7 separate regions of the Homo sapiens genome follow, and all the other regions are linked to region 5. The links are contacts of gene promoters, found by promoter capture Hi-C in human tissues and cell types (Jung and others, 2019). All regions are on one chromosome and are shown on one strand. Each heading gives the region's core, a stretch centred on a gene start or on the middle of the fragment in contact. The rest is flanking DNA. Distances are from core to core; before and after follow the strand shown. Region 1 holds the start of COL6A2 (collagen type VI alpha 2 chain). Region 2 holds the start of KRTAP12-4 (keratin associated protein 12-4). Region 3 holds the start of COL6A1 (collagen type VI alpha 1 chain). Region 4 overlaps CFAP410 (cilia and flagella associated protein 410). Region 5 holds the start of POFUT2 (protein O-fucosyltransferase 2). Region 6 overlaps PCBP3 (poly(rC) binding protein 3). Region 7 overlaps PCBP3 (poly(rC) binding protein 3).

The links. The method cuts DNA at HindIII sites, captures the fragments that hold promoters and counts their contacts. A contact is called where the count stands out against the background at its distance.
Region 1: a contact is called between the fragment with the promoter of COL6A2 here and the fragment with the promoter of POFUT2 in region 5, in 1 of the 25 tissues and cell types used here (lymphoblastoid cells).
Region 2: the fragment with the promoter of KRTAP12-4 here is called in contact with the fragment with the promoter of POFUT2 in region 5 in 1 of the 25 tissues and cell types used here (thymus).
Region 3: a contact is called between the fragment with the promoter of COL6A1 here and the fragment with the promoter of POFUT2 in region 5, in 3 of the 25 tissues and cell types used here (heart right ventricle, lymphoblastoid cells and neural progenitor cells).
Region 4: a contact is called between a fragment that was not itself captured here and the fragment with the promoter of POFUT2 in region 5, in 2 of the 25 tissues and cell types used here (dorsolateral prefrontal cortex and spleen).
Region 6: a fragment that was not itself captured here is called in contact with the fragment with the promoter of POFUT2 in region 5 in 1 of the 25 tissues and cell types used here (dorsolateral prefrontal cortex).
Region 7: a fragment that was not itself captured here is called in contact with the fragment with the promoter of POFUT2 in region 5 in 4 of the 25 tissues and cell types used here (dorsolateral prefrontal cortex, lymphoblastoid cells, mesenchymal stem cells and 1 more).

The regions. Positions count from the first base shown.
Region 1 is chr21:46,096,678-46,099,377 of GRCh38, forward strand. It overlaps COL6A2 (collagen type VI alpha 2 chain), which reads left to right and starts at 1,435. Exons shown (of 28, transcript NM_001849.4): 1 at 1,435-1,496. It overlaps COL6A2-DT (COL6A2 divergent transcript), which reads right to left and starts at 968. Exons shown (of 2, transcript NR_186433.1): 1 at 795-968. RefSeq lists an enhancer at 1,258-1,552. The HindIII fragment of the contact is 26,496 bases long and covers 1-2,700 here.
Region 2 is chr21:44,653,286-44,655,985 of GRCh38, forward strand. It overlaps KRTAP12-4 (keratin associated protein 12-4), which reads right to left and starts at 1,374. Exons shown (of 1, transcript NM_198698.1): 1 at 928-1,374. The coding sequence starts at 1,329. The coding sequence ends at 991. The region is part of intron 1 of TSPEAR (thrombospondin type laminin G domain and EAR repeats); the gene reads right to left. RefSeq lists enhancers at 1,838-2,338, 2,339-2,700. The HindIII fragment of the contact is 6,744 bases long and covers 1-2,700 here.
Region 3 is chr21:45,980,381-45,983,080 of GRCh38, forward strand. COL6A1 (collagen type VI alpha 1 chain) reads left to right here and starts at 1,390. Exons shown (of 35, transcript NM_001848.3): 1 at 1,390-1,567; 2 at 2,254-2,383. The coding sequence starts at 1,471. It overlaps LOC105372841 (a long non-coding RNA gene), which reads left to right. Exons shown (of 3, transcript XR_937803.3): 3 at 910-1,186. RefSeq lists enhancers at 1,148-2,010, 2,011-2,700. The HindIII fragment of the contact is 42,283 bases long and covers 1-2,700 here.
Region 4 is chr21:44,331,411-44,334,110 of GRCh38, forward strand. CFAP410 (cilia and flagella associated protein 410) reads right to left here. Exons shown (of 7, transcript NM_004928.3): 4 at 1,623-1,852; 5 at 433-604. Among named protein-coding and RNA genes, the nearest start is that of CFAP410, 6.6 kb to the right of the region's middle. RefSeq lists enhancers at 1-459, 460-959. The HindIII fragment of the contact is 7,900 bases long and covers 1-2,700 here.
Region 5 is chr21:45,286,544-45,289,243 of GRCh38, forward strand. It overlaps POFUT2 (protein O-fucosyltransferase 2), which reads right to left and starts at 1,352. Exons shown (of 9, transcript NM_133635.6): 1 at 1,198-1,352. The coding sequence starts at 1,328. It overlaps LINC00205 (long intergenic non-protein coding RNA 205), which reads left to right and starts at 1,509. Exons shown (of 3, transcript NR_026943.1): 1 at 1,509-1,701. RefSeq lists a silencer at 1,279-1,808 and an enhancer at 1,963-2,693. The HindIII fragment of the contact is 23,447 bases long and covers 1-2,700 here.
Region 6 is chr21:45,866,515-45,869,214 of GRCh38, forward strand. All of the region lies in intron 5 of PCBP3 (poly(rC) binding protein 3), which reads left to right. Among named protein-coding and RNA genes, the nearest start is that of PCBP3-AS1, 31 kb to the left of the region's middle. The HindIII fragment of the contact is 9,205 bases long and covers 1-2,700 here.
Region 7 is chr21:45,801,997-45,804,696 of GRCh38, forward strand. All of the region lies in intron 4 of PCBP3 (poly(rC) binding protein 3), which reads left to right. Among named protein-coding and RNA genes, the nearest start is that of PCBP3-AS1, 33 kb to the right of the region's middle. The HindIII fragment of the contact is 9,548 bases long and covers 1-2,700 here.

The sequences.
Region 1 (2,700 bases), core at 185-2,684, 810 kb after region 5:
GAGATACGGGGAGCCTTGGCCAGCACGTGCCCCTAGACAGTGCTGGCCAGGCCGAGGGAGAACTTCTGGAGCCAAGGTAACCCCTAAAGGATTCTGGTCTTGTGAGGAGGGGCCTGGCTTCCCCCTGGGAGCTGCTGGCTTGGAAGCAGGAGGCATTGCCCAGGTGAGAGTTCGGCATGGACCCAGGGGAGTGGCACACGGTGCCCGCCGTCAGCTGTGCTCAGGAGCAGCAGGCAGGAGCCCTGGACTCATGGCTACCATGTGGCTGCCACACTCAGGCACACTTAGGCACATACACTCACACTCAGGCACACTTAGACACACACATTCACACTCAACCTCAGACGCAGACACACACCACACACTCACAGATGCACACAGTCTCAGACACAGACACACACCACACACAGATACACACACCACAGACTCAAACTCAGTCTCAGACACAGACACACACCACACACTCAGATGCACACACCACACACACTCAGTCTCAGACACACACACACACCACATTTGCAAACCTGCTCATCAGAAGAGGGACCTCGCCCCCAGCCGCTCCGCCACCTTCCAGGACAGCTCTGAAGGGAGCCCTGTCCCGGAGCCCAGGGACCTCTCCCCAACCCGGCTGCGCCTCACCTCAAGGAGGAACCCCGGCCCTGGCTGGGGGACTGTGACCAGGGTGGGGAGTGGGGACCCCAGACAGAGCCCTACCAGGGACCCCTGTCACTCTGTCCCCGGCTGGGCTCAGGTGGGGACCTCACGGTGGTCCCAGGGCCCAGCACCAAGCCCACCTGTGGTTTCCAGCGGGAAAGGGGTGGCAGGGGTGGCTCGCCGCATGCCCAGGCTCTGCCCCAACCTCCGCGCCCAGGCTCTGCTGTCCCTGCCCTCCCGGCTCCCCACCCTCAGGCCCCAGGAGCGGCAGTTTCTGCAGGAGCTCCTGACCCGGGGCCTCTCGCGGGAGGCCTGAGCAAGCCGGACACAGGACACGGGGTAGGGGAGGGGTCGGGGGGCTGATGGGGGGAACCCTGCACCCCCCAGGGCAGCTGCTACCAAGGGGCGAGTCCCAGGGCCCCCGTCGGCCCTGCGTGCGGGGCGCGGTCCCCAACACCCAGGGCCCCGGAGGCGGACACAGCCCCAGCCAGGTCGTCCGGGAAATGGGGCGGGGGCGACGGGCGGCCGGGCCCGGGACGCGAAGTCCGAGCAGCAGCGGGCAGGGGCTGGCGGGGGAGCTCGGCCCGGGCTGCAGGGGGGTCCCCACCCTCTCCACCTCCTCCAGCCTCCCGCCCTCGAGGGTCCCCGCTTCCCTCCCATCCCCCTCCCGTGCCCCCGGCCCCCTCCTCCCATCCGCGGGGCCGCAGCGCTTCCTGGCGGCGGGGCGGGTCAGGCCGGCGGGGCGGGGTATAAAGGGGGCGGCGCCGGCCGCGGTTCCCTCCCTGCTGCTTACTCGGCGCCCGCGCCTCGGGCCGTCGGGAGCGGAGCCTCCTCGGGACCAGGTGAGCGCCTCCCGGACCCCGCACCCTGGAAGCCGCTCGGCCCGCGGGGGGTGACCCCGAGTCCTGGGAAGGCGGCGGCGGCGGCTCCGTCCCTCGGGTCCCCGGGAAGGGGGACTCCAGCCCCAGGGACGGCGGGGGGCTCGGCGGGTTCGGGGCTCCTCCTCGCGGGGCTGGGGCCGCGCCTGCCCCTGTGGCTCCGCGTCTCTGGGTCCGACCCTCGGGCGCGCGACTTGGGGCCACCTCCCCGCGGCCTCCTCTGGGGCGGAGCCGGCCTGGGCGGGGTGGGGGGGTCCCTGTCTGCGCCCGAGCTCGGTGCTGGGACCCCCGCTCCCGAGACGACCCCGGCACCGCACGCCCCGCCAGGCCCCGCGTCTGCGAGCGGTTCGGGTCCGGCTCCGGCCCGCGGGGAAGACGCCCCGGCTGGCTGGGACCTCCGGGGGCGCAGGGCCTCTCCCCGGGCCGGACGGAAGGGGCGGCGGGGCGGGGGGAGGAGGGGCTTTCGGTGCCCGAGGGCGGGACTGGGCGGGGAGGGGACGCGGGTGGCCCCGACGCCCCATCGCTGCGCCCCTCCCGGCCTGGAGCCCACCAGGGCCCCGCCAGGCCCAGGAGAAGCTGCAGACGGAGGCGGCTCCCCAGGGCGGCGGGACCCGGGCTGACAGCGACCCGCAGCCCCTGCCGGGCCGCCCACACCCGCCCTGGGACTCCGCCGGGGCGCTGGTGGAACCGCTGGGCCTGGGTCTCCACTGCTGGCAACCGAACGGATCGGCCCTCTGTGGAGCCGCAGGTGTGCGGGCGAGCGGCGCCCATCCGGGCTGTGCCAGCAGAACCCCGGTGCCCGCGCCTAGGACGCCCCTGGAGAAGGGACCTTCCCTTTGGGGTCGGAACCCAGAAAGGAGGGGCCTGCGATCCGCGGAGCTCCTTGTTCTTGGGATAACACAGCTCTGGCTTGGAGGCCCCCTTGCACTTCGACTCTGGTGATTATTTCAAGAAAGGCCAGACCGGGCACGGTGGCTCACGCCTGTAATCCCAACACTTGGGGAGGCCGAGGCGGGCAGATCACCTGAGGTCAGGAGTTCGAGACCAGCCTGGCCAACAGGGTGAAACCCCGTCTCTACTAAAAATACAAAAAAAAATTAGCCGGGCGTGGTGGCAGGCACCTGTAATCCCAGCTAATCGGGAGGCTGAGGCAGGAGAAAATCACTTG
Region 2 (2,700 bases), core at 124-2,623, 630 kb before region 5:
TCTGCTTTGATGCAGCTTCTGAGCCAGTTTCATGTGATCTGCACGTGCTGACCTCCCGCCACCTGCATATGAACTGTGAGCTGAAACCCGGGGCGGAGCCTCTGACAGGGCTGCCCCCGGGCTGGTGTGAGCTGAAACACGGAGCCGGAATCTCTGACAGAGCTGCCCCCGGCTAGAAACCTCACTCTTCTATAGTCCTCGGTAAAACTTCTGAGTAAAGCTCACTTTAATTCCTTAAAAGCTTTTTTTATCAACACCACAAACCTCTTTCCCATCCAGTTGGATGAAGGAGTAGCTATAGATTTAAATTTAGTTTAAGGTTTTAATTTCTTGACAAGAGTGGGTTGCACATACCAGCTAATAAGCAGATGGCCCGTTTTACCTAAAATGGATCAAACTACAAAATTAGTGATTTGTCCTCAATCTCACCCAGAAGAGAGTAAGAACTGACCTCATACATTTAAGGAACAAAGTGGGACGAAGGAAGCCTGATGTGACTGGGGTTGGGGGTTCCCATCAGGCCAAGCTCAGGAGCACGGCCCACTAGCCCGAGAGGGTGCTGTTGAGAGGCCGCTCACCAGGCCTAACATTCATCTGGTACCTGCCCCTTCTCTGCAGGGAAGGAGCTTTCCAGAATCCTGGGGAAGGTACCTCCTGAGGAAGGAGTGTGGGAAAGACACTGAGGAGAAGGCATCACACAGACTCAGGTGAGCACTCAGCATCTGGTATTTATGATATTTGCAAGAGACCTAACATCAGACAGTGCGGAGGGCCCTGTGGATGGCCCAGGCTGTGAACCCAGGAGAAACTGTGTAGAAAGGCGCATGGCCTCACCGGCTGGGATCTAGTGACGGTGCCGCAAAGGAGGCAGGCGGTCTAGTCAGGTGACGACAGTTTGCTGTGGGAGGATGTGGGGACTGCCTGGCAGGAGTTCAGAGAGCCTGCTGGCTTCTGACCTCGCACCTACGAGGGTCATAGGAGGCCACCTGCTCAGCAGCCAGTGGGGGTGCTCCAGGTGACAGGTCTATAGACCAGGGTGGGGCAGAAGGGCTGGCAGCACCCAGAGGTTGGGCAGAAGGAAGCCACACACAAAACAGGCTTGCAGCTCACAGGCACACAGCAGGCCACCTGGCAGGGGCTGGGCACACAGCAGGCTGGCTGGCAGCAGGTGGATACCCCACACAGGGGCCGGCACAGCAGAGCCACACAGGGGGCTGAGCAGCAGCAGGAGGTCCCATAGCCCTCGGGTGGGTAGCAGGTGCTGGGGACACAGCACGGGGAGCCAGGGCAGGCCATTGGGCAGCCCGAAGAGTGGCTGGTGTGGCACATGATGGAGTGTGGACAGGTGGGGGGCGCAGAGGACAGGGCTGGTCTGGAGCCTGCTTCCTTAGGTGGCCTTTATACCCAGGCTACCGGCATCCTGGCAACAAGCCCCCTGGCATCTTCCTCGTGGGTGGTTTTTCCTCCTCTGCCCTGTCTGGTTGATCTTTCTGTGTTTTTCTGTTGAGGTTACTCAGTTCAGGAAACTCTTTCAGCTAGGGGTGCCCTATCATTCAGCAGACCGTGTGTTTCCTGGAAACAGAGCAGGGGTAGCTGGTGAAGGGCTGTCAGTGAGGCCAGGGGCCCACCTCATGGATGTTCAAGGTCCCCCCGTTGTAAATGCCATCTGGAGCTCACACAAGCACAGTCACACTCACTACACCAGGGGCCCCGTTTTGACTGAGAAGCTCAGTCATCATCAGGGTCTTCCCAAGTAACGAGAGCCAAACTACTGGGCTCTATATTGTGGAATAATAATGATGATTATTGAGGTAACAGTAATGCACAGAGGTCTAGCACTGTGCCAGGCTGTGATTATCTCATTCATCTTTGCCAGCATTCGGGGTGGCCGATACCCCATTTTACAGATGTGCAATTTGTAAGTCATAGAGGGTTTGCACAATGGGTGCGTGTCTGCACCACTGCAGAGGTGCAGGGATCTGGACTGCTTAGTTTCACTCTGGGATCCATGGTCGTTACCACTGTGCCAAATTATACTAGGGCTTGAAGGTTCAATAAGTGACTCATCCTGAAGTCCTGAACCAGCTCGGACAGAGAAGATGGACGAAAACATCAGCCACGTTGGCGTCTGCAGAGCATGGCTCAGGCGTGTGACCACAGTGGGCTTCCTGACACCACACCTCAGAAGTGCCCACTTCCCACGAGTAGCACTAATGGCCACAGGACACCTCCTCTGCAGACGGAGCCCAGGAGGACCCATCACGGAGTCGGGCATGAGCTATTCATATCTGGTTCCTCTCCCTCGCTGTGGGTCTGATCAGTCTCACCCCTGCAGAGGCAGCTTGGGGGAAAGTGAGGAGCTGGTGTGAAATTCCAGGATGCCCCTGAACTTGGGAAGCAGCGGGCAGGAGTGTGGATGACACGCTCCTCCTCACACTCCAGCTCTGTTCTCTTGATGGATTGGCCACAGCGCTTTATTCTACGGTGGTGTCACACGGTGGGGGATGAGCCATCTCTCAGGGCAGAGCTACTCTGTCCATCCCAGGCAGCTCCCAGGGGCACCCTCTGCTCCTGTGTGGGTCCTTCTGTGCCTGCTGGTGGTGGATATGGGTGATTCCTGCCAAGAAGCCTTCAGACAAGTCAGACACCACATTAATGAAATCCCCTCCAAGGCTGAAGACCAAGTGGGGTCTCAGAGCT
Region 3 (2,700 bases), core at 140-2,639, 690 kb after region 5:
TAAGACATTTAGGCTGGTGTTAGGCAAGTCTCAGCAGCTCCAGCTTTGGGAAAGCTCTTCTGGGACCTTCTGTGGGCCAGGGATGCATCTGGCCACATCTGGAGCCCACCCCCAGGTGATATCAGGGACAGCCCCTCTCTCCTCTCTCTGTCTCTCTTTCTGTCTCTCTGTCTCTGTCTCTCTGTCTCTGTCTCTCCGTCTCTGTCTGTCTCTCCTCTCTGTCTCTCTCTGTCTCTGTCTCTCTGTCTCTGTCTTTGTCTCTCTCTGTCTCTCCTCTCTCTGTGTCTCTGTCTCTGTCTCTCTCTCTGTCTCTCTCTGTCTGTCTCTCTGTCTCTCTCTGTCTCTGTCTCTCTCTGTCTGTCTCTGTCTCTCCTCTGTCTCTCTGTGTCTGTCTCTCTGTCTCTGTCTTTCTGTCTCTCTCTCACTGTCTCTGTCTCTCTCTGTCTCTCTGTCTCTGTGTCTCTCTGTCTCTGTCTCTCACTGTCTCTCTCTCTGTCTCTGTCTCTCTGTCTCTCTGTCTCTCTGTGTCTCTCTGTCTCTGTCTCTCTGTCTCTGTCTCTCCTCTGTCTCTCTGTGTCTCTCTCTGTCTTTCTGTCTCTCTGTCTCTCTCTGTCTCTGTCTCTCTCTCTGTCTCTGTCTCTCCTCTGTCTGTGTCTCTGTCTGTCTCTCTGTCTCTGTCTCTCTGTCTCTCTCTCACTGTCTCTCTCTGTCTCTCTGTCTCTGTCTCTCTGTCTCCACACACAGCATATATAACAACTATATTGTGAGCAACTTTGTCTTCCCACGGTACAAACTGAAATATCTTTGGCAAATACGTATCCGACTATACTGTGAAGAAATATTGACGTGAAAAAAGAACGCGGAGATCTGATAAAGCAACAATTCAGCTCACGGCGAGGTCCTCTGCAGGAGGCGGTTGGTGGGAAGAGGCGAGTGAGCCTGCCCGTGCGTCCCGCATGGAGACGTCTGGATTGGAAACTACCGAAAGATGTTTCAAGGAACTCTCCCTGGGTGACACGCTGGTTTTCAGACGTTTGATTCAGCTGCTGCAGTTTCCTCCTCCCTGACACGGGAACTGAACTGCAGGCCGCGGCGAGCCAGCCAGGGAAACCGCCTTCTCCCTGGGCTCGGAGCTGCTGCCGGTTCTGGAGGGAGAGACCCCAGCAAGGAGGTGGTGACTCATGGGCCGCTCCTCCCCGCCCCGCCCCGCCCCTCCCCTCCCGCCCCGCCCCTCCCCTCCCGCCCCTCCCCTCTCCTCCCGCCCCTCCCCTCCCCTCCCCTCTCCTCCCGCCCCGCCCCTCCCCTCCCCTCCCGCCCCTCCCCTCCCCTCCCGCCCCTCTCGCCCCGCCCCTCCCCTCCTTGCCCTCCGCTCTCACTCTGGCTGGGAGCAGAAGGCAGCCTCGGTCTCTGGGCGGCGGCGGCGGCCCACTCTGCCCTGGCCGCGCTGTGTGGTGACCGCAGGCCCCAGACATGAGGGCGGCCCGTGCTCTGCTGCCCCTGCTGCTGCAGGCCTGCTGGACAGCCGCGCAGGATGAGCCGGAGACCCCGAGGGCCGTGGCCTTCCAGGGTGAGTGGTGGCTTGGGGTGCAGGCTCCAGACCCCCCGCTCTTTGCTGCCGGCCAGGGCCAGATGCGCGGGGTCCCCTCCCACGCGTGGAACTGCAGACTGGGGGCCTGGAGCCCCTGAACCCCACTCCCCGCTCGGGGCGGCTGCAGCGCCCAGCTCTGCCCCACCGGGCCTTGGCCGGGGCCCCTAGAGGCTCAGCATTCAGCATTCTCAGCGGGGCCGGACCGCAGGCAGCTCGGGAGGGGCTCCCTGGCGAGGGGGAGCTGGTGCGGGGCTGTCTCGGCGCCCCGTGAATCCGTTTGACCCCTCACCTGGCAGTGAGTCCAGACGCACGGCCCCCCCGACCCCCGTTCTAGAAGAAGTCGTGCGCTGCTGGTTCTGAATCCAGCGAGAAACCTTCCCGTGAGGTCTCACTTGTCCGGTCCCGTGCCGGGGACGCCCTGCCCTTCGGGGGAGGTTGTGAAGGTTTCTGACTCCCCTCGAGGCACAGGAGCGGTTTGGGGTCTCTCACTCCACCCCCTCCCCACCGTCCCCACCGAGGGACGTCCTGCTGCCTTTTCCCGGGAGAGCCTCTCCGGGCCCGGGGCTCTGTGCTGCAGGCGCTGGGCTGGCCGGGAGGGCAGGCCCAGCAGAGACTCGGGGAATGGGGCGAGAGCTTGAAGGCCCCTCTCCTCCATCTTCGGCCAGACTGCCCCGTGGACCTGTTCTTTGTGCTGGACACCTCTGAGAGCGTGGCCCTGAGGCTGAAGCCCTACGGGGCCCTCGTGGACAAAGTCAAGTCCTTCACCAAGCGCTTCATCGACAACCTGAGGGACAGGTAGGAGGGACGCCCCGTGACCTTCCTCCTGTGCTTCTGGGCCTCTTGGAGGGAGGGGTGGGGGCCCAGGGGAACACGGGTGCGACGGCCTCAACCTCCTAAGGTTGGGCGAGCGTTGCCCTGACCGGGGCCCCTCCCGGCGCCCTCCAGAGTGAGGCCGGGGCCCTTTCCGGCGCCCTCCAGAGTGAGCTGGTCTGAGCCTCTCCCAGCGCCTTCCAGAGTGAGCTGGTTTGAGACCCTGCTCGCGGGGGTGGCACCTGTTCAGCAGGGCCGAGGTGACAGTGAGGCTGAGATGTAGGGAAGAGAGGCTCCCGCAG
Region 4 (2,700 bases), core at 120-2,619, 960 kb before region 5:
TCTCACTGCAGAGTCAGCCCTGTGGCCCCTCCACGGCCCCCAGGCCCAAGGCCATACGGGCACTGATGGCCGTGCCCACAAACCATTCCAGTCACTGTGGCCCTAGGCCACCCCCCCCACCAGGGGCTCCCTGCACCTCACGAGCTCTGGTGCTGTGAGCCTTCTCTGTGCCAGGGCACGGGGCCTGGCTCACCCCCTCTCCTGCTCCCTGGCACATCCGCTGTTGGGCAAAACATGGACCTGCCACTGAAATCACTACCTGGGCACTGAGTCACTCCCAGAGAATATGGATGAGAACAGACACTCCCCCCGGATAATCCCTGTCCCTCACTTCCCAGAGACGCAGCTCACGGGAAGCCCCATTCACTCCCCGTGGGAGGACCCTGGGGGACAGGGATGGGCTGCGGAGTCCCCGCTGCCCTCCAGCCTCACGTTGCCTCCTCCTCGCTGTCCAGCGGGTCCCGGCCAGTCTCAGCAGCGGAGCTGAGGGAGCTCAGTGTGCAGCATAGCTTGGGGCCGCCGTGGCCTGTGCCCTCTCTCTCTGGGGCCGCAGTGATCTCCTCTCCCTCACTCAGTGCACGGGACAGCTCCTCCTCCGTCACAGCTTTGGGATGAAAGACAGAAGACAGCATGAGTGGCCTCACCCACGTGCAGGCCACATGCACTGCAGCTCCCGTCCTCACTGTGGCTTCAGGCACAGTCTGCTTGTGAAATGCATGCACGTGTATCCACCTCCAGGGACAACTCCCAGAGTAGCAGCCGGTTCCTCACTGTCCCATCCCCAGCCTGGCACAGGCTGACACACAACAGATGGTGGAGGGCTGCTCAGGAATCTCAACACCAGCCTTGGCCAGAAGCAAATACTCCTCAAAACCTCAACTAAGACACAATAGAAAAAGGAACAGACCATATTGAATTTATTCCATTTCTCTCATATATCAATTTCCCTGAAGTTTATATTATTAATATCAATAAAATTGTCTGGGAGAAAATAGTGGTGTCTGTATACCTGACAAGGATGAGACACTAGTGTGCTGAGAATGCCAAGGATGAACAAACAGCATGAAACCACAGCCTGGAAAACTGTGTCGGTGCTGGCGCTGGCTAGAGGAGGCACGAGTGCCTCCAATAGGTGGAGCGCAGCAGCAGGCACTGCGGTGCTGGGACGGCCCCTCCCCACGGCAGGGGCGCGATGGCACCGCCACCCTAGGTTCACAGTGGCCCGTGGAGCCTGCCCAGTCCCTGTGGACCAGTGCGATGCTGCTTGCCAGATACTGACGCCCCCGCTCGCCATGGCGCATGGCGATGGTCAGAGCAGGGCTGCTACTCACAGAAGCAAAAGAAGGAACCCTTTTGCTTTGCTACCAGGTCCTGCGGTCGTTGGGGGATACCCAAACTGTCAGTCCCAGGAGGGACCCTACGCTGCGCTGCTGCATTCGGGTGGCGGGATCAAGAGGAGACACAGAAGCCAGGGGAACAGCCTCTGGAGGAGACTTCACAGGACACATCTATGTCCCGCCAGACCAGGTATTTGCAGAAAAGGAGAAGAGAAAAGAGGGCTGGGGACATCCCCTTCCAGGGATTGTTTTGGGAGGGCCGGTGACTCCGCTGCGGCCACCTACCCTGGTTGTCCAGCTTCTGTAGGCGCGGCAGGGTGCGCAGCACGGTCATGCGGTAGCGGTGGGGGCTGGTGCCGCAGCACGGGTTCTCGGCCAGCCACAGCACCCGCAGACGCGGCAGCCCCTTCAGGTAGAAGAGCTCAGCCAGGCTGGGGATGCGGTTCCTCCGCAGGTACAGCTCACTCAGGCGCTGGCACCGGCTCACAGGCTCCAGGGTGGAGATGCTGTTGACACTGCACGGAGACCAGCACAGTCAGCGAGGGACGTGGCCAGGGCCCCCAGGGCCACCTCTCAATCCCCACCCCCAGTAAAAGGCACTCATGGGACCTGTGTCCCTGCCCTCTCCTGAGAAGCCTAAATCGGATGTCACAAGTCACGTGCAGCAGGACCTGGGCCGAGGAGAGAGCTGTAGGAAGGCCAGGCCCTGAACTCAAAGGCGGACTGGGGTGGACCCCACCAGCAACAGCCCCTTGGCCCGACGCTCCACATCAGCTCCTCAGGGCGCTAGAGTGCGGGAGGTGGGGGATGTGGCCCTCCTTCACAGGTGAGGAAAATTAAGGCCTCTCAGGGGACATATCATGTTGCCCCAAAGCAGGGAGCGGCCAGAAAAACTCATGGCAAAAACTAGGAGCCAGCTCCACGTGACATGGGAGTGAGCACGGACCTTCCAAACCCCCACTTGAGGGCGGCAACACTGGGGATGGGCCTCATTTCCATTCTACAGAACGTGGACGCGTCAGAGAAGAGAAACAGCAGGCCTGGAGCGGGGACCTGCAGGCTTTACCCTGCAGCGTGGGGTCCGTCCCCTCCACAAGCGAACACGCGGAGCCGCTCCCGCAGGCCCTCAAAGGCGCGGAGCCAGGGCCCCCTGCCTGGAGGGCTGCACTCGCGTCCGGCAGGCGCCTCAGAAGGGCGGTCACCAGGCCCCCATGGGCAGCCTGCCGTCCTGAGCCCCCCTCCCCATGCCATCCCTTCACTCGGGGTTTCCCAGGTCTCATGCAGCTCCTAGCTATGAGGCCGCCCCATTTTACCAAGAGCAAAACTCCGGCTGTGGGACTCTTTCCAGGATGGGGTCTGCCTC
Region 5 (2,700 bases), core at 102-2,601:
GTGCATTCATGAGAAGTGAAAAAGGCGTATAATACTCTGGTACTACTATTAAAACGGCTACAAAAGCTCAGAGATCCAGGACACACTTTAAGATCACTGCCCTAGAGGAAGGACACAAAGCGCCCCAAGGCACAGACAAGTCCCCAAGGCACAGACAAGTCCCCAAGGGCTACAGAAACCCTGTCCCTGGCGCTCTCCTTTCCCTGCTCTGCGCTGGTTTTCCATACTCCCATCGTCGCGAGTGAAGCTGCGTGCAGCGCCCAGGCCTGCGAACGCCACGAGGGGCCGTGCACACCTCTGCGTCCAGGCCCCTCCCGGGGTCCGCTTGGAGATCCCACAGCCACAGGGCGGCCGCGAAGCTCGTCTTGGCCCTGAGAATTCACTGCGGAGCGCCCGCCCGGCACTGACTCCCGGCTCCGCACACCCAGGCCTGGACCCGTGTCACTTGCAGGGGCCTCCGGAGCCAGCCCACGCTCAGCCTGAGCAACCCGGCCCCCTTCCTGGGCTCCCGAGGCTGCGCCCCGGGCCTCGCAGACGACCCCGCCTGCAGACCCGGGCCGCAGTGACGCAGCCTCGACTACAGCCAACCCGCTGGCCCGACCCTGCCCCCAGCCCCCGCCCCATCCCATCCCCCAGACTCCAGCCCGGCCCCGGCCCCTGCCCCTGCCCCTGCCCCTGTCCCGTCCCCGTCCCATCCTTCTTGGCCCCGGCTCCCGCCCCGCCCCCATCCCATCCCTCGGGCCCCCGTTCCTGCCCCCATCCCATCCCACCCCTCCTGGCCCTAGCCCCTGCCCCGCCCCCATCCCATCCCATCACCCTGGCCCCTGCCCCGCCCCCATCCCATCCCATCGCCCTGATCCCTGCCCCGCCCCCATCCCATCCCTCCTGGCCCCTGCCCCCTGCCCCTATACCATCACCCTGGCCCCTTACTCCGCCACATTCCTTGCCCCAGAACCCTGACCCCATCCCATTCCCCTGACCCCTGCCCCCTGACCCCGCTCCATCCCATCCCCCTGGCCCCTGCCCCATAACTCCGCTCCATTCCATCTCCCTGGCCCCGGACCACCCTCCATCCCGTGGGCCTGCCCCTGACCCCATCCCATCTCCCTGGCCCCTGACCCCGCCCCGCCCCCATCCCATCCTCTGACCCTGCCCGGTCCTGGAACCCCAGCGTTGGCACCGTGGACGCGCGTTTACCGTCTGCGGGAAGCCGCCCCCGACAGAATATCGGCCGCCGATTGTCCGGGCCAGAACTCCTGGCCGGAGGCAGAAGCCGGAGGCCAGGACACTGCCCCCAGCAGCAGGAAGACGAAGCTGAGTGTCGCCATGGCCCCGGGCGGCCACGCACTTCCGGCGGCCGCGCCCCGCCCCGGAACCACGCCCCGCCCCCGTGAAATGCGTTCCCAGTAGCCACGGCAACGCCCAGCTCCGCCCTCCCCGCGCATGCGTTATGCGCCATCACCGGCAAGCAGGGGCGGGAGGGGGAACTGCGCGTGCGCAGAGTCTCCGCCCTCCTGACCGCAGCGGCTAGAGGTTCCATTGCAGACCCGGAGGCCGTGGCTGTGGTTCGCGGCGGTGCTGTCGCGGGCGCCCTGGCGCAGCCCACGCAGGGGCTCCTGAGGGTCCGCGAGGCCGGGAGGTCCGGGGGTCGGGAGGTCCCGGGGTCGGGAAGTCGGTGGACCCTGCAGGCCAGTGGGGAGGGTACGCGAGACTGGGGGCCGGGAGGGCTGACGGCTGGTGGCGCGGGGCGGGTCCGTGGGGAGGAGGCCCGGGGCTGGTAGGGGCGGGAGGGCTGGACGGCGGGGGCGGGGCGGAGGAGGGGGTCCGTAGACGGGGTCGGCGCCGGGTGCTCTCGCCCCTCTGGAGCTGGGGTCGGGGCGGGAGCCGCGCATGAGAGCCTGGGTTTCTAGTCGGGGGGCGCCGTCGAGCTCCACACCTGCGGCCTCCTGGGTGCCCCCAACCCTGGAGCCCCGGCGAGGGGGCACCCGGGCTGAGGCCTGGCCCTCCAAGGAGCCCTGGAGGGACTGTGCTGCTAGGGCGCGGGGCTCGATGGGGTGATCTGGAGACCTGGGGGGATCCGGGGCTGCCGCCCCTGCGCTGCCAACCTCCCACCCCGCCCCTTCTGCGAGGCGTTATTAAAGGTCTGGTTTCGGGAGCCAGGTGCGTGCCCGCCGCCGCCGCTCCCCGCAGCCTCCAGGCAGCTCCCGCTGTTCCCCGAGGGCACCAGCACTGGCCGACCGACCTGGCTTGGGGCGCGGCGCTGGCAAACCCGGCCTTCTGAGGGGACGCCACGCTGACTCTAGTGCAGGCAGCCCCCAAAACGGTATAATTGGACGAATTTCTTGAAGGATGCCAGTTACCAAAAAAGAAAATACTAATGCTTATTATCTGTTAAATTTGAGATCAATTTGTTATCAAATTTTCTCACACAGAAAATTCCAGGCCCAGAGGGCCAAGCTGGTGAATCCTACTTAGAGAAGAAATAATAGGAATCCAGCCACTCAGACGATGGACGAGGAGGGGCACTTCCCTGCTCGATGTATGGGCCAGCATTGCCTTGATAGCAAAGTCAGACATCACCAGACAGTAGAACCACAGACCAATGTCTTTCATGAACCAAGACACAGCATTTAAAAAAATTAGCAAATGGAATTTATATCTGCCTATTGTTTACAAAAAAAGCCAAACTTTGTAAAATAC
Region 6 (2,700 bases), core at 28-2,527, 580 kb after region 5:
GGAGGGACGTTGTGGCAGAGGCTGTGAGGCCTCCAGGGGCTCAGGAGAAATGAAGGGTCTGTGTCTCTGGGGCAGGAACCAGCCACAGATGGCCTTAGGGGAGGAGAGGACCTGGGGAGGGGTCTGGTGGGAGGCGGGGGTGGCTGGAGCAATCCCAGAGAGGCTGAGGTGTTCAGGCTGGCCCCAGATGCACACGAGCGTGAAGCCTGTTCAGAAGCCAGCTCCTCACACCCTCTCCCCTGCCAGAGGCTCCAGCACCCCCTCCCCTCTCCTCTCCCCTCCCTTCCCTGTGGTCCTCCTGCCCACCCCACCCCCGTCTGCATGTGCACCGTCACGGAGATGCGTGTACTAGGGCGGAGGTCGGGGACAGTCGTCAGAAGGACACAGGAAAGAAGGGAACAGGAATCCCATAACAGAACATTATCCGGCAGGAGTAATTAACACAGGCAGGACTGGAGGCTTTGTTTTGTTTTGCTTAAAAAACAGTGGTATTTAAATTAATGGGCATGGGAAGACTATTCAGTGAAAGACATCGGTCATTGAGGTATCTATTCAAAAACACGGTTTAGTACTCTGCCACACACCGAACGCAACGCCACAGCAGCCATAGAAGCGTGTGTGGCTGTTTAACGTGGTCTTTTTGGGGAGGGCATCCTAGGCAGAGCAGGCGTGGAAGGGAAGGCGGCGGACGGAACAAAACGCGGGCACGCAACGGCTGCTGCGCCGGATCTGAGGCAGGGCCAGCCTGTGGGAGCAGCAACATCGCTCGCAGGACAGCGATGGAGCCCCCACGAATCCGCGTGAAAGCAGCAACCACCTAGAAATGAACGTACAGCTGCTTAGAAACAGAATACGGATGACCCGAAAGACTTCCCGATGGTAGTCACCAGCATACAGGACCTGACACGGGCGTGCGGGCAGGGTGTGCCGCTACGGGGTCCCTGGCGCACCTGCTACCCCTGCTACCCGCATTCACCGCACGCGGAGGGTGCGGGCCGTGAAGGTTATACATGCAAATATCCTTCCACCAGCCAGTTCTCCTTCCAGGAATCTGCCACCCGACCCTTGTGTTGTGCACAGACATGGTCCAGGTGTTTGCGACGTGATTGTTTATCAGAGAGAGAGAAGGGAAATCTCCAGGCTCGCTGTAGCTGCAGGAGCTCTGGGGGCTGCGCCCATCGTGGAGACGGATAGCTGTCTCTCATGAACACAGGACAGCAAGTCCGGCTGCGGCCACAGAAGACTCGCCCTCCTGGACGCAGCGTCTTCCTTCCTCAGCCCCACACTGGAGGTGGCCAGTGCCATCCACAGCAGAAGGGGCCAGCCGGGACCAGGCTCACGCCGTGGAATTCTGCTCTGTGGTAAGAGGAAGAGCGATAGCTGGAACCCAGCGCCGTCGCACACACAGCGGGGAAGAGTCTCAGAAATGTTACTTTGAGTCAAAAAGCTGGACAAAAAAAGGCGCAAGCCAGATGGTGCTGAAGAGGCCACAGGAGGCTGGCAGCCAGGGGGTCTGGCACCTCACTCGGAGGCGCAGTGGGCCCGTCCGGAATTAGTGGCCATACGGCAAGTGCCGAGTGGACATCAAACCGTCACTTCAGACTCCTGCGCTTCACTGCCTGTCGGTTATGCCTGGGTTTTGAAATCAAGTCACAGAACACCTGGAATGTGGTGTTTACGCAGAACAAAGCGGGTGCCTCGGAGGAGAGAGCCTAGGGACAGGGGCACCTCCCGGTGTGGGTGCCCAGGGTTGCAGGGTGGCTTCCTCTGTCTGCGCGGTTTTCAGAGCCCCAGGGTCCTGCCTGCCCGGCTGCCTGGAGGCGGCCCACATCCTGCTCTGCGCCGCCGAATCTCAGCCTGAACAGCTTCGCTGGTGTTTGTGTTGACTTATTTGTTCTTTTTTTTTTTTTTTTTTTTTAAATAAAGGATTCCGATGCTGTTACAGTCAATAAAAGCCACAGGTCTGGGTGACCTACAAATGTGTGTGTCTGACTTTCTGCAGTTTAAATCGCCACTGAGCCTTAAGGCGTCTGGCCCGCGCATTGAGGAATCCACGTGGGTCTCGGGGTCCCCATGCCTGCCCAGCTCCCTGCTTCAGCCTGGGCGGGTCTGGCGGGCATTTCTGCGAGCCTGTCCCTGGGCCCGCCTCCTGGCCAGACTTCCAGAAACATTGTCCACATCCCCGTTGCACGTCCCCCCGTCACCGGAAACTGCAGCCCACAGCACTGGGAAGAACCCGGGAGGCAGGCGTTAGGACGGGGTGGCCGAGACAGGGAAGGGAGCCATGGCGGACGTCCTCACCCAAGCCAGGGCTTCCTGCCCCTGTGGTACTGACAGGAGCCCCGCAGGACGTGGGGTTGGCTTTGGGCAGCTCGGTGGACACTTCTCTTTCAGATCCTGCCACAGCAAAGCTCACGAGACTCACTTCTTCCCATTGGAATTCACTAAGAACAAATTCAACAATTCAGACGCCCCAGCTGGAGGTTTATTTTATGGATTTTACCTGTGCGGTATTTAGGGTTGTGTTTATGAATAAAGGTGTGCGTTCTGGCAAGTAGAAATACAGAGCTTGTCTTTCACCCAAGTATCTGTAACTTTCTCCAATGCAGACACTAAAATGCAATAAAAACAAACCAAACCCATTAAACATGAATTAGATGAGGCAGGCTGATGGGAGGTTGTGGGATTAACAGGCCGTCA
Region 7 (2,700 bases), core at 14-2,513, 520 kb after region 5:
ACACTGACTGTCCCTCTGTGGCTCTCGGGGTCTCCCCTCCTCTTCCTTGAGGGCATCGTCATGATTCAGCAGTGACTTCTGGGCTGGGTGGTTAGCGGGGCTCCCTCCTTTACCCTCAGACCCCTTGGATGCCATCCTGGGCAGAGGCCTTGGCCCAGTGCAAGCTCTTTCTGCCCACATTCTCCTGGTAGCGGCTCTGCAGCTGGGCGCTGTTTCTGCCCTGTCATGCAAGTGGGCTGGGTGCAGAGGCTCACAGCTGGGTGCTGGGGCTGGGGGTGAGCTAGCTGTCCGGCCCCTGCGTCAGCACCACCCCTTGCTGTGTTCCTGAAGCGTCCTGTCTTCCATGGTCAGGATGCTCTTTCAAGACAGCCCTGATGGCATCACCTCCCTTCACTCGCCTCTTCTTAGCTTGTTCATTAAAAACAATTGTACTTACTGAGTGCCTACGTTGTCCTGTGCCCGGGCTGCCCAAGGTGGTGTGAGTGTCAGGGCACGTGGCCCAGAGGGCTCTGCAGAGACGGCTCTGAGAGCAAAAGTGAGCCATGCTGGAGAAGGGACAGGAGCCCCTGGGAGACGTAAGAGATGGGGACAGGCTGACGGAGGAGGAGGACCGGGCTGGGGGAGGATGGTGGGGCTCTAAGCAGGGCAGGAGGTCAGATTGTGTGTTTGGGATGTTCCTCTCCTTCATGGGGAGGAGAGGCCCTGAGGGAGGCAGGAGCAGGAGGGGCATCGTGTCCCCAAGGACCCCAGGCAGGGCCTCCAGGGCTGGTGCTGGGAGGAGGCAGGGATGGGAAGGGTCCCCGAGGGCCCTGAGCAGGGCTAACCCTAGGGAAACCACACACAGGCCACGGAGGGAAAAGCTTTTAACCCTTGTCGTGTATAAACGACTCACTAGGTCTTGGTGCATTTTTCATTGATACTCATATATTTACTGTTGAATCTCTTTGAGTTCTTTTTAATGATTTTTCTTGTTTTCAATAAAAAATAACATTTCCCGTCTGCATTGTACAGTCATAATTTGAAAACAAAAATTGTTTTGTTGTGCAAACACTTGTTCTGATTCTTTATCTATTCGTTGGAAGTCAGTCACAAAGCAACTTGAGAAAACAGCCTGTCTCTGCCTCCAGCCTGGTGTGCCTGCAGCTGTGTGGGTGCGTCCCCTCCTCACTTTCTCAGCAGAGGCAGAGGCTACAGTCTGAGTGGCAGAGCCCACCTTTCTGCTGGGGGTAGTGGCCATGCAAGGGTATTGGTGTGTTTTTTGCACATGCAGCTGGCCATGCTTTAAAATAAGCAGATTGACCTTTGTTTACCTTTCACCCCCAGAATGGTTTGGTCAATGACAGCAGCCATTTTTATTGTTTTTATTGTTTCTTTTCTGTGGTGGTGAAGGTGGCATCCCCTCCTAGCAGCTGCACACTGGGGTGGTCCTGAGGAAAGGAGGGCGAGAGCAGAGCTTGGGGGCGGGCCATGAGGGGAAGTCCAGGCCTCTCCACCCAAGGATGACCCTTTCTCCAAGAATCCTGCAGTCTGTTGTTAGGTCGGGAAAAAGCCGTGGTGGTTTTATACTGCCAGTGCCGGGAGCTTTCCCATGAAGTTTAAATGCAAACAGGACACTGAGGGCAGGAAGGTGTGCTGAGCTGCCCTGCACAGTGCTTGGCTCTGATGCCCACCCCAGGGTCCCTGGGCACTGCCAAGCTGGGCATGAACCTGGGGTAACCCAGAGGAACCTGGAGCAGTATGGGCTCCAAGAGGCCCCTGAGCTTCTCCAGGACCCAGATGGTGACAGCCTGGAACATGGCTTCCCCGTGGCCTCGCTGCCATAGTCAGGCCTCGGGAGGTGACCCTGTGCCAGGGCACCGGATGGCCCAGGTCCTGCTGGGGTGGGCTGCTGAGTCCCTTCCCATGAATGTTGTTACTGTGCTGTATCTCACTTGTGCCCTCGCTGAGATGAAGGACGCCTAGACCTTAGTGCAGGTGCCTTGGGGGCGTCCTGGCACTGAACATCCTTGAGACATCTGTGGTGCTTCTCTTCCTCATCTGTGGTGTTGTGGGCCTCCAGGGGAGGTGGCTGTCTGCCTGGAACAGGAGGCCCAGCCCACAGGTGCCCACTGCCTGCTGCCGCGCCTCCCTCTCTGCTGCCCGCGTGGCTGTAGTGTTTTTTACCCCATTGCTGTTTCGCTTGGCACCTACACGTTGGTTCCCTCCTGTGCACCGGGCTTTGTGCTGCAGGCTCTGGCGTGTTCACAGTACTCCTTTGGAGGGATTCTGTTTTTAGAATTAGTGGTACAATATCTTGTCATCTTGGTAACTTATTATTAATAAAAATGGTATAAAATGTTTTGCCTCCTAGTGCCCACACCATCCATGTAGATTATATTGATTTACTCCAGCTATTTGAAAGGCTTTGAGGTGGTGTACAATATCAAACCATGTGAAACAGCACGATTAACTGGCAAAACCAAAAGCCATGGAAATGAGCCGGGGAGCTTACTGAAGATCCTAGTCTTGGGGGAGATGTTTGGTGAAAATGTGTGCATTTGCTTATGAAAGACTTGTATTTATTCTGCACCCCCCTGACCCTGAGTGTCCCTTGGTCCATTGCCTGGGCTCTGTTGTCCTTACCAGGACTGCTGCTTCCCCAGTCCCTGCTGTCCTGCTGATGTGTCCACGCACCAGGCATTCGGCTCCTGAAATCACAGT